Regions from separate parts of the Homo sapiens genome. Here regions 2 and 3 are each linked to region 1. The links are contacts of gene promoters, found by promoter capture Hi-C in human tissues and cell types (Jung and others, 2019). All regions are on one chromosome and are shown on one strand. The core of a region is centred on a gene start or on the middle of the fragment in contact, and the rest is flanking DNA. Distances in the headings are between cores, read along the strand shown. Region 1 holds the start of ACVR1 (activin A receptor type 1). Region 2 overlaps ACVR1 (activin A receptor type 1). Region 3 has its middle 63 kb from the start of ACVR1.

Region 1 (3,575 bases), core at 157-2,656:
ACGAGACAACCTGTATTCCCTTCTTAGGTTAAAAATGTGCCCCAGTTCAAAACAGTTTGTAAGTGGCAGAGCTGACACTTCAGCCAAGTGACAATGAGGGCCCTGTTACATCATTCTATAGAGCAGGGATACATATAGGTGCTCTTGCCTTGATTGGTACTGAACTTGCCTCTCCTGCTCCTCACCAATCATACAGGTACAAAGCTCTCTTTATGAAAAAAATGCTCCCACCTACTCCATCCTTTTGCTTACAGCTGGGGATTCTAGTTTTTTCACGTATATATGCCTTGTATTTCTAATTAGATTGTAAACTCCCAACCTGCAGGGACCAGATCTTCCATTTCCTTTGCAACCTTTTGCAGTACTGCAGTCACCCAATAAATGCCCTCTGCATGAATGAACCTGTAGAGATAAAAATACTTTATGGCATTCCCATTTATAGGTTTCATGTTTTTATTCTGCTTTGTGATAGGACTGTACATTATAAGCTTCTAGAGGGCAGAGAAAATGGCTTAGTGCTTTCCTTTACACTCAGCAGGAACCATGCAAAATTTGATCCTTGCATGCCTTTTTGATGCTCTGGGTAATATTAGCACACTGGGGTGTTTTTGTGTATCTAAGGACCGAGGTTATCAGACTCTCTGCAGCGGAGAATGTTCCTGCATTTCCACTGTAAGCTCCCATGGCGCCTAGGACAGGGCTAGATCACTGCAGAAGCCCCTCCATGCTTATTTCTGTTACTAAGGAAGCCAAAGGCGAACATGGCAAGCTCTGTCATAACCCTAGACCTTGCAAGGAAATGAGCAAAGTGGAAGGGGATCTGAAGGCAGGTCAGAGATGGCCTGGATGAGAATGCTAAGGCTTCTCTCTGAGAATCCAGCCCAAGTCTGACATGCAGGGCTCGAGTAGGTGGCCGCCCGCAGTCGCCGGGCCCGGGATGCCCGCCCGTCCGCCCGCCTGCCCCGCGCGCCCTCGGGAGCTGTCCAGACGGCCCCGCCCGCGCCTACCTGGGCACTCACCCGTGCCGCGCGGCCTCTTCTCCTCCCACCCCGGCCACAGGAGCCCAGCTCGGGCCTGCCCCGCCGCCTCCGAGGAGCCCCGCTGGCGGCGCGCTCATAGCTTCCACCCGGGCCAAGCGACCGGCCAGACAGCGCCAGGCGCGCCGGGGGCGGCGCGGTCAGGCTCGGCGGGGCTCGGCGGGCTCGCCCTCGGCCGGGCGCCTGCAGGGGGCGCGGGGACGGCCCCGCCCCGCCGCCTCCTCTCTCCCCTCCCGGCTCCCTGGATCCGCGCCGGGAGGAAATGATGTGTTGCTGCCTGGTTAATCACAGCTCCAGACACTCATTGGCCGAGCGCTCCGCAGCCACTTCCTCCTCCTCCTCCTCCCGCTCCTCCCGCTCCGGCTCCTGCTCTTTGCAGCCGCCGCCGCCGCCGCAGCCTCCCCCTCGGCGCAGGGGGAACTTTTCTACTCTCTGTGACGGTCTCCCCCGCCGCCCCCGGGGGCAAGCCCAGCTGGTCCGCCCGCCCCGCCCGCGGTCGTGCTCCCAGCCCGAGCCTCTGCGCCTCGGGAAGTTTATTCTGCCCGCCCTCCTCCCCTTCCTCCTCCTCTTCACCCCGCCTCCCCGCCCTCCCCCGGCTCTTTCCCCCGGGTGGCTGCCGCTGCCGCCGCTGCCGCTGCCAGCCTGCTCCTCGGCCAGCCGCGCCGGCCCCAGGGCCGGGAAGCTCCCGGCCCCACGCACCGCTCCGCTGCAGCCACCGCAGCCGCCGCCGCTCTGGGCCGGCCCTCGGCCCCCGGCTCCCGGCCCCGCAGAGTTCCGGGCTCCCTCGCCGGCTGCACCGCCCCGCCCCGCCCCGCGCCGCCCCGCGCCGCGCCGACCTGCAGCGCCCGGCTGCCTCGCACTCCGCCTCCCCCGGCTCAGCCCCCGGCCGCGGCGGGACCCGAGGTGAGCGCAGGTCGCCGGCCGCGCCTGCTGGAGCCGGGAGGACTGAGGGAGGAGGTAGCCTAGCGGGAGAAGAGGCAGGGATCGGGGGTGGCAGGGTGGGCGTCTGCGGTGCCTCCCCCTCGCTTTCATTCCTTTCTCCCCCAAGCTTGATCCCCTCTCCGTGGGGGAAGCAGCCGCGGAACAAAACTGTCTTGCTTTGGGCCTGAACTGCTGGTGGGATATGGGGGGTGGGGGGGCAGAGGCGTGGAGCGGGGGTCTCAGGTTTGTATTGGGGTGTGTGTGAGTGCGTGTGTGTGTGTGTGTGTGTTGTGAACTCCTTCAGGGTGTGCGACTCTGACTTGTAAATCGATCTGGCCGCGGGGCCACGGGGCTTACCTTCCTAGCTGAGCTTGTAGAGAGTAAGGAGATAGATAGGCGAATTTCCCCCACCCTCAAAATATCCATCTCTTCCAAGAGGAATTTTCTGCTGGAGAGACAGCCAATAAACTCTGCTCAACTCCCTCCCTCCCTCGGTTCTTCCTAGCTGCAGTTTCAAAAAGCTTCAAAGCCAGGAATGTGGGATTCATCTTCCGATCCCCAGAAGGCAAATGTGGTTACAGATGTTGCACGGTACTTTGCCAAGTTTAAAACCCTTCCTTCAACACTGTAACCAAAACAGTGAGGCTAGAACCTCGGGCGCACTAAGAAGAGATGTGGGCCTCTGGGGCCGCTGGATTCAGTAACTTCCGTCGGGTTCTAGACTGGCTCGGCTCTGTCCAGTTTGTGCCAGATAGTCTCCCACCCCCTCCCCACCCCTCCTTTCCCCTGGAGATTTGAACGCTGCTTGCATGGGAGAAAAGCTACTTAGAGAAGAAAACGTTCCACTTAGTAACAGAAGAAAAGTCTTGGTTAAAAAGTTGTCATGAATTTGGCTTTTGGAGAGAGGCAGCAAGGTAATACAATGGACTTGTCAATTTTATTGGGCTTTTCTTTCTTTTTTGAGGGATGTATGATAAGAGTTAGATGATGGGCAAAGGGGCCCGTTCCATACATGTTTTTACATATTTTTGAGAAGAGGCCCATGAATTGAGACATAACCCAGTGGTTTTAAAGAATCCTGTCCCAGAGATGCAGATTGCTCTGACAGCCCAAGGGAAGGCGGTGGCAAAAAATAGACACCACCTCCCTTTTCCCCAAAAAAATTCTTCCTGGAAAGGTGGTGTTAAGAAATTTCAGAGATGGGCTGATCCAAGTGGCGGGCCTTAAATGGAAACACTATAGTATGTCCTGGCACTTGTCTCTGGAGGTGGGTTGCTGGCCAGGGGCCCAGGCTTGGGCAGCCAGCAGACACTAGACTTGTGCTGACCTCAGACATCGGCCTCGCCATGCAGCTTCATAGTGTGCAGACTGCTTAAGTTTGAAATATGGGCCTCATCCATTTCACTGATGGGGACATAGGGGTCAGGAGGTTATCTTATGCCTGGATGGGACCTCGATCACTTATTTTATGATTCACTTGTTTTTATTTTCTGTCTTGGAATTTTAAAAAATGGAATTCTTTTGAAGCTGAAATCTAGGCCTTAAGTTGATGTAACTGGGTGTTGGATAATAGCATTTCTGCTATTACCCCTTATGCAGGTACTCACAGGTGGTGAA
Region 2 (3,924 bases), core at 947-3,446, 45 kb after region 1:
TCCCATCATATTGAAGCAATCCTGAAAGTATTAACTGTTTCTTACCATGTCTCTCTCAGTGATACTCAACTCCCAGCTGCTCATTTGAGTCACCTGGAGAGTTGGGACAATGGCCATCCTCCATTTCCACCAGAGAGCACTCTTAGGCACTTTTAATGTACAGCCAAGGGTGAGAACAACTGAGCTCATTTAGTCCTTTAACCCTGGGGTTTTGGGTAATGCTTGTCTGCCCTTCCTCTTCAGTCCACAGAGCTCAAGTATATGCTGGACATCAGGATATACAAAGATACAGGAAGCCAACCTGTGCAGTATGGAGACAGTTTGTTAACTTACTGGTCTCTGGAGGAACTTCTGAGAGAATTCAGCTGGCTGTAGTATCACCTCTACCTGAGGAAGGATAGGGCTGACAATTTGCTAGTCTCTAGCTCTTCTTGAATTGCTTTTGAAGGGTAGAAATGTGTGACAAAAGGCTTATATATGTGTGGGTTTATACACACATATTCCTTTCATTGTTGCTTGGATAAATAGAGCACATTTTAAATGAGAATGGTGTTAAAATGGCTATGAAGAATTAATTTCACATTAGAAATTCTGGCCCAAATTCTGGGAATTTGGGTTATTGATAAATATAGATTGTATTAATTGTCGGGTAAGTTGCTTCTTAAGAGTTGCAATATCACAAATGATCAAAAAGCTGATGTTTCAACCTGTGCTTATGTAAATTAATCACAGGTGTGGAATCTTGAGGCTTGTGAAGAAAAGACTCCTAACAGTCAAATTCAGGCATGTTTTATGTTATAGAATTAATCTATAAAAAATGAATTCTGATGCAAAGCTATGTGTTCTAATTAATAGTAACCCAAATCAAGAGGCTAAAATTCCATTAGTGGACTGAATGCTGAGTGACACTTGAGGAGAGTAAAGTATAGAAAATGTCTCTGTTTTGTGGTTACTCATATAAAAGGTCTTGCATTAAAGAGTCCAGAGATTTATGTATCATAGACAAGGTCATCTTGATAATAGCACATAATTCTGGGAGCAGACACATCCCCATCTTCCCACCCCATATCACCCCTACTGCAAAGCATCACTGGAATCCCAAAGAGGATTCCAGGTAGGCTGGCCTCAGTCCTGACTCTTGACTTGCCATCATCCTTTCTCGTTTTTGTCTTTCCTGTTAGTTTCTTCTGATACCTCACGTGTCCTTTGGTAGAGGCTGTTTCATTTTAATTATTTAATTTCATTTTAATTATCTGCCATTTACTAATGTTAGTCTGAAGTTGGCGGTGATTTGCAGATTCTCAGTAGTAGTTCTCATCTGATTGGGGGGTGGTGTCTGCCTGTTTTATAGATGGGACACAGGCAGAGAGTAATGTGCTTAAGATACCAATGCCTGGGAAGTAACATGCCTAGGTTCATTCCTCAAGCTGTGCGATTCCAGAGCTTTTGCTCTTTTCACAAAAATTAACTGGGAGACAAGCTGTGTCCAGGTGGTGAAGCTAGGTCCAGGAGTACAGCCCAGCATGTACTCGAGGTCTAAGTTGTACAAAAAAGGCTGTAAGACCTTTCAAACTGATTTTTAAAATAACAGTTTTATTGAGTTAGTTCATATACCAAAAACATTCACCCTTTTATAATGTACTATTCAGTGGTTTTTAGTGTAGCCACAGAACTGTTCAACTGACACCACTATCTAATGTTAGAACATTTTCACCACCCTGACAGAGAAACTATTAGCATGTAAGACTAATTTTAAAGCTAACATTATTGGAGTAGAAGCCAAGGATTGGGCTCTCCTGATCATCCTGTGAACTGAGTGAGGGTAGAAACCAGTTCCTGGCCCAACCCTGCAGTGGGCACAGAGTAGACACCAGTGTTGACTCTCACAGAATCCTCCAGAACAGTGAATTCTCAACTTTTGAAATTTTAACCCAGTCCCAATTTTGGTAAACTAAAAAATCTCACTTTACTCTGCCCACTTGTTTTATGAAAACAATAGGATTTAAAATTGTTTTCTAAGCACCTATTTGTTTTTTGATTTTTCTCGGGTAGATCTGCCACCCTCATTATTTTGATTGGAGAGTCATTGGCATCTCAAGACTTCTGGGTTATTTTCATTGCAGGTTTGCTTGAACACATGAAATGATTCAGTGCAGTCATGAGTTCAGATGACTCACGCATTAAGCAATTTCATGTGTAAAAGTGATCCCAGCCAGCAAATGCTAATAACAGCCATTTATTATTCCTTGGATCTTCCTACTCTTTTCTTTAACATTTGTCTTTGGCCATTGCCTCCTTTCTGTTACCTTTTTCATGCTTATTAAAGTAAATTGAATAACATTATATAGCAATGTGTGTTATTTGTCTTTTCTTCCCAGTGTGATATAAACAGTCTGGGGCTGAGAAAATGGGTAGTGGGGTGGGGAAAAACCTTTAAGAAGGTAAAGGCCAGGTGTGGTGTCTCATTCCTGTAATCCTAGTGCTTTGGGAGGCTAAGGTGGGAGAATTGTTTGAGACCAGGAATTCAAGGCTACAGTGAGTTATGTTTCTGCCACTCCACTCCAACTTGAGCAACAGAGTGAGACCCTGTTTCTAAGACAAAAAATGTAGCAAATGTAACATTGTCATGGTGAGAGGAAGAACACTTCTTTTTCCTACTTGAGCTCCCTCAGTCACCTTGACTGACAACATCTGGAAGCAGGCCAGCCAGTGAGAGCTTAGCCAAGGGAATTGTATGGGGGCATGAGTCCAAGTGACCATCTTGGGAATAATTCTCTGGGAAAAAATTACATTTTTTTTTTTTTTTTTTGGTGAAACAAAGCATCTCCCTTCTTACATTTTATTGATAACAATTTAGTTTCCAGTAATATTACATTGTTAGCATGGTATATAAGTATTTCAAGTTTTGTTTTCTCTCTCTGTGTGTATATAAAATTTAGAAAAAAGATTATGTCCTAAAATGTTAGAGTAGGGAATACTTTGTTTTCAAATGTAAGTCACAAGGAAGCTGTGGTTGAGTATATACACTTAGTTTACACATTGTCTTTTTGTATGAAATCAGAAACGTTGGTAGTTCTCTTTGTCTATAACTTAGGGTTTGGGGAAGTTTGTTTTGTTTTTTAGTTTGAGTTAAAAGCCATGACAACACTGAAAATGGGTTCCAGTAGGTCTACCTCCTTTTTTCCATTAGCATTATTATTTCTTTTTCATTTTTTAAATTGTTCATATTTCTCTTGGATGGTATCTTTTCTGCTTTGAATCCATTATCAGGGTACATCATTTATTATCAACATTTATGAAGGGCCTTTTATTTAATTTTATTTTGAGACGGAGTTTGCTCTTGTCACCTAGGCTGGAGTGCAATGGCATGATCTCGGCTCACTGAAACCTCCGCCTCCTGGGTTCAAGCAATTCTCCTGCCTCAGCCTCCCAAGTAGCTGGGATTACAGGAGCCTGCTACCACACCTGGCTAATTTTTGTATTTTTAGTACAGATGGCATTTCACCATGTTGGCCAGGCTGGTCTCGAACTCCTGACTTCAGGTGATCCACCTGCCTTGGCTTCCCAGACAGAGTGTTGGGATTACAGGCGTGAGCCACTGCGCCCAGCCTCTTGGCCTATTGTTTATGACTATCCTTGATGTTTCATAGGTGAAAAATACTCTTACTTTGAAGAGTCCACAGACTCACCAGGGAAATAGTAAAATTTAAAAATTAAAATGCACTTTTAAGGGCCACAATAGTTAAGTTTGGGAAAAACAGATGAGGGGGCATGTGTTAATATTTCAGACAGGATGTAGACATGGGGGCTTTGGGAGGTGATGCTGGGGCTGATCCTGAAGCATAGGAGTTTGCCAGATGAAAAAAGACATTTCAGGCAGACAAGTGCAAAGGCAGAAGGTGAACATGGTCATGGTGTCCCCAG
Region 3 (3,910 bases), core at 676-3,175, 63 kb before region 1:
GCAAATCTGAAGCTGTATTACGTTGGAACTTAACCCTGGTTATAGATCTAGTGGCCAGGAAGGGAAATGGGAGCAAATCAGGAGGCAAATCATGTGCCTACAGGAAAAGCCCTCTCCATTGTCTTCAAGCAAGAAGGATGTGCTAACTCTTGGAGAGGGATGGTCACTTCTGCAGACCAGGAGAATTCAAAGAAGCCTAGGGGTTCAAAATCTTAAATGACATTCACCCAAATCTCCCCAGCTCAAGGGACAGTGTCCTGTTTTTCCTAATCTTGGCCCTAACCTTAGCATAACAGAATTGCTTTAATTCTGCATTTCCTTTCTTGCCATTATTATTACTAATTAAGAAAAAAGCCCTCTCTGTCTGTATGTGTACAAGTGTACACACATGCATGTACATCCAATGAAGTGAATATGAATTTAAAGAAATCTCTAGAAGAAAATATCAAACTTTTAATACTGGTTAAATACATGAAGGAGAGTACAATGAAAAGCTTTGGAGAAAGAAATTTGCACAATTTTCTATACATTCTTCCATGTCTAAATATTTTTTGCAAATATTTGTATAACATTTTAAAGTATTAGGAAAAGTAAAAGGATCAATCAACGTAGGGGAAGAGAACTGGAAGAGGGAAGAAAACTTTAGCCATGTCCTTTATTCTCTCCTAAGAAGTTTGACCTCACTTCACCCAACCCAAGAGGAGAGAATGAATGGGTGATGGGCATTGAGAGCTTGTGCGATGAGTCATTTCCTTGCCCCTGGAGAAGGTGGGAATGAGGAGAAGGGGGCTTACTGTCCGTAGTCAGCCATACTCTTTCATTCCTCCTTCAGAAAGGGCCCAAGGGCTTGGGGATTGCAGCTCTGATCCAGGGACCATGGGAACCACATGAGAGGCATATGAACCTGGGTACATTGCAGAAGGATGATTCAACTAGGGACAGTCATGAGTGACACCACAGGAGGAGGTGTATCTGTGCAGAAACAGCTCTTCACAGCTTTTTGGAACATCGGCATGGTAGGAAAGGGCAAAATAATCTATATAAATAAAGTTAAGTTTCTGTCTGTTAAAACAATTGATTAGACAGATTTTCAATACATTTGACAAAGGTATTTAGAATCACATATTGGTTTTCTGTAGCTACTATAGTAACAAATTACCACAGACCTGGTGGTTTCAAACAACAGGAATTTATTCTCTCACAGTTCTGGAGGTCAGAATTCCAAAATTGGATTCATAAGGCAGAAATCAGGGTGTTGGCAGGAACATGCTCCCCCTAAAGGCTCTAGGGGCCTTGACTCTTCCAGTTTCTGGTGGCTGGCAGTATTCCTTGACTTGTGGCCATGTCACCCCAATTCTCCTATGACTTCACATCATCTCTCTGTGTAGATAAAACTTCCCTCTCCCTCCCTCCTATAAAGGCCCTTGAGATTCCATTTAAGGTCCACCGTAAATGTAATTTGGATAATCTCCCCATCCCAAGATCCTTAACTTAATCAAATCTATAGAAACTCTTTATCCTTATCAATTAACACTTACAGGTCCCAGAGGTTGCAACTTGACATGCTTGGGAGCCATTCAGCCTACTGCAGATGGACTGAATTAAAACATGCAACACACATGAAGTTAATGTTGGGAATTCTGGTTTTTCAAAGAGCAGTCTGCTTCTAGAGAACCCAAAATTGAGAAACAATAGCAGTTTCGTGTATCTGTCAATCAGAAGAGAGCTATGGTATGTATTAAGACACCAATTAGAGAAAATAATTGGTGGCTTCAAAGTCGAGCTCTGCCTCCCCAACTCAACCTATTGAGTAGAATTTCTGCATTTGATTCTTACCCTGACTAAAGGCATAAGAGTCGACACTGATGTGTAGGCTTCAGTTCACAGGAAGTCTGCTTCTCACATGAGCAACTCCCTATAGCTGACTTCTCAGTAATAAGTAGGGATTTATTTGTGTAACCATGTAGAATCCAAGTAGGAAGTCAAATTGTAGTAATAATACTAGCTAACGTTTCTTGAGCATTTATTATATCCCTTGTAATGTGCTAATTGCCTCTCATGTATTGTCCTATTTAATTTCAAAGCAAACTTTTGAGGTAGCTTGACTCACTAAGGCTCTTTGATTATATCCACCACAAGCAAACAAGATTAATTGGAAGGCCTCTGGGCTGGCTCACAAATCAGGAGAGCTGCAAAAACAGGGTTGGTAAGGACAGAAATAACAGCAGTTCAAGTGTGAAGAACTCAGTTCTTGGTGCTTTTCTCAGTTATCATTGGATAACTATCTAGATGACCTTTCACCTCTGTGGGTTTCCACTCAGAGTTTGAATTCCAAGCAGACTTAATCTCACCCTGGTGGGACAGAGCCACAATCATTGGCTTTGCCTGGGACAAATGCCCACCCTGGGCCAGGGGAGCAGGTTCAGACATGAAAAAAGAGTGAGGAGTCGGGTGCAGTGGCTCAAACCTGTAGTCCTAACACTTTGGGAGGCCGAGGCGGGTGGATCACCTGAGGTCAGGGGTTTGAGACCAGCCTGGCCAACATGCCGAAACCCCGTCTTTACTAAAAATACAAAAATTAGCTGGGTGTGGTGGCACATGCCTGTAATCCCAGCTACTTGGCAGGCTGAGACAGGAGAATCGCTGGAACCTGGAAGGCAGAGGTTGCAGTCAGCCTAGATCATGCCACTGCACTCCAGTCTGGGTGACAGAGCGAGACTCTGACTCAAAAAAAAAAAAAAAAGTATGTGTCTCAAACACTATTTTGCAAGCGTGAAAGAAGGAAGAGATAGAATTGTGACGTTAAGTTCCCCAAGTCACTAAGCAAGCTGATAGTGAAACTATAATATATCTTTCAGTCTGTGACCTTTGGAACTCTCTGATAAGATGCAGACTACTTTAGCCATGTAGTAGACAGCTGATGTTTTTGCTAGGCCAGTACTGTGGATTAAATTGTGTCCTCCCAAAATTCACATGTTGAAACCCTAACCCCCCAATGTGATGGTATATGGAGATAAGGCCCTTGGGAGATAATTCGGTTTAGATAAGGTCATCAGAGAAGAGTCCTCTTGATGGGATTAATGCCTTTATAAAAAGAAGAAAAAGTTACCAGAGCGCTCTCTCTGCCACATGAGGACACAGCAAGATGACAGCTTTCTGCAAGCCAAGAGTGTGTCCTCACCAGAACTCATCCATGCCAGCACCCTGATCTTGGTCTTCCAACCTCCAGAACTGTGAAAAGGGTCTCTGTTATTTAAATCACCAGTCTATGGTATTTGTTATAGTTGGTGCCCAAGCCAACTAAGACAACCATGCCATCCATGCCAGCACCCTGATCTTGGTCTTCCAACCTCCAGAACTGTGAAAAGGGTCTCTGTTATTTAAATCACCAGTCTATGGTGTTTGTTATAGTTGGTGCCCAAGCCAACTAAGACAACCATGCCATCCATGCCAGCACCCTGATCTTGGTCTTCCAACCTCCAGAACTGTGAAAAGGGTCTCTGTTATTTAAATCACCAGTCTATGGTGTTTGTTATAGTTGGTGCCCAAGCCAACTAAGACAACCAGCATCCGTACCCCTTATTTTGGAAGCAGCTTTCCAATTCTAGGAAGTATTTTTTTTTTTTTAGACAGAGTCTCACTTTGTCACCCAGGCTGGAGTGCACAGTGGCATGATCTTGGCTCATTGGAACCTTCGCCTCCCAGGTTCAAGTGATTCTCCTGCCTCAGCCTCTCCAGTAGCTGAGATTACAGGTGCCTGCCACCGTGCCCAGCTAATTTTTGTATTCTTAGTAAAGACGGGGTTTCACCATTTTGGCCAGGCTGGTGTGAAACTCCTGATCTCAGGTGATCCACCCATCTAGGCAGTCTTAATAGGAAAGTCAAGGCCCGGTGCGGTGGCTCACACCTG

What was found. The method cuts DNA at HindIII sites, captures the fragments that hold promoters and counts their contacts. A contact is called where the count stands out against the background at its distance.
Region 2: a contact is called between a fragment that was not itself captured here and the fragment with the promoter of ACVR1 in region 1, in 2 of the 25 tissues and cell types used here (IMR-90 fibroblasts and hippocampus).
Region 3: a contact is called between a fragment that was not itself captured here and the fragment with the promoter of ACVR1 in region 1, in 2 of the 25 tissues and cell types used here (mesendoderm cells and thymus).

The regions. Positions count from the first base shown.
Region 1 is chr2:157,874,161-157,877,735 of GRCh38, reverse strand. It overlaps ACVR1 (activin A receptor type 1), which reads left to right and starts at 1,406. Exons shown (of 11, transcript NM_001111067.4): 1 at 1,406-1,940. LOC105373714 (a long non-coding RNA gene) reads right to left here and starts at 1,152. Exons shown (of 2, transcript XR_923518.3): 1 at 1,020-1,152. RefSeq lists silencers at 845-1,034, 1,055-1,294, 1,355-1,574, 1,585-1,634, 1,725-1,934 and an enhancer at 1,165-1,459. The HindIII fragment of the contact is 2,058 bases long and covers 225-2,282 here.
Region 2 is chr2:157,829,619-157,833,542 of GRCh38, reverse strand. The region is part of intron 1 of ACVR1 (activin A receptor type 1); the gene reads left to right. Among named protein-coding and RNA genes, the nearest start is that of ACVR1, 45 kb to the left of the region's middle. RefSeq lists an enhancer at 2,007-2,508. The HindIII fragment of the contact is 9,856 bases long and covers 1-3,924 here.
Region 3 is chr2:157,937,162-157,941,071 of GRCh38, reverse strand. No RefSeq gene overlaps it. Among named protein-coding and RNA genes, the nearest start is that of ACVR1, 63 kb to the right of the region's middle. The HindIII fragment of the contact is 3,671 bases long and covers 90-3,760 here.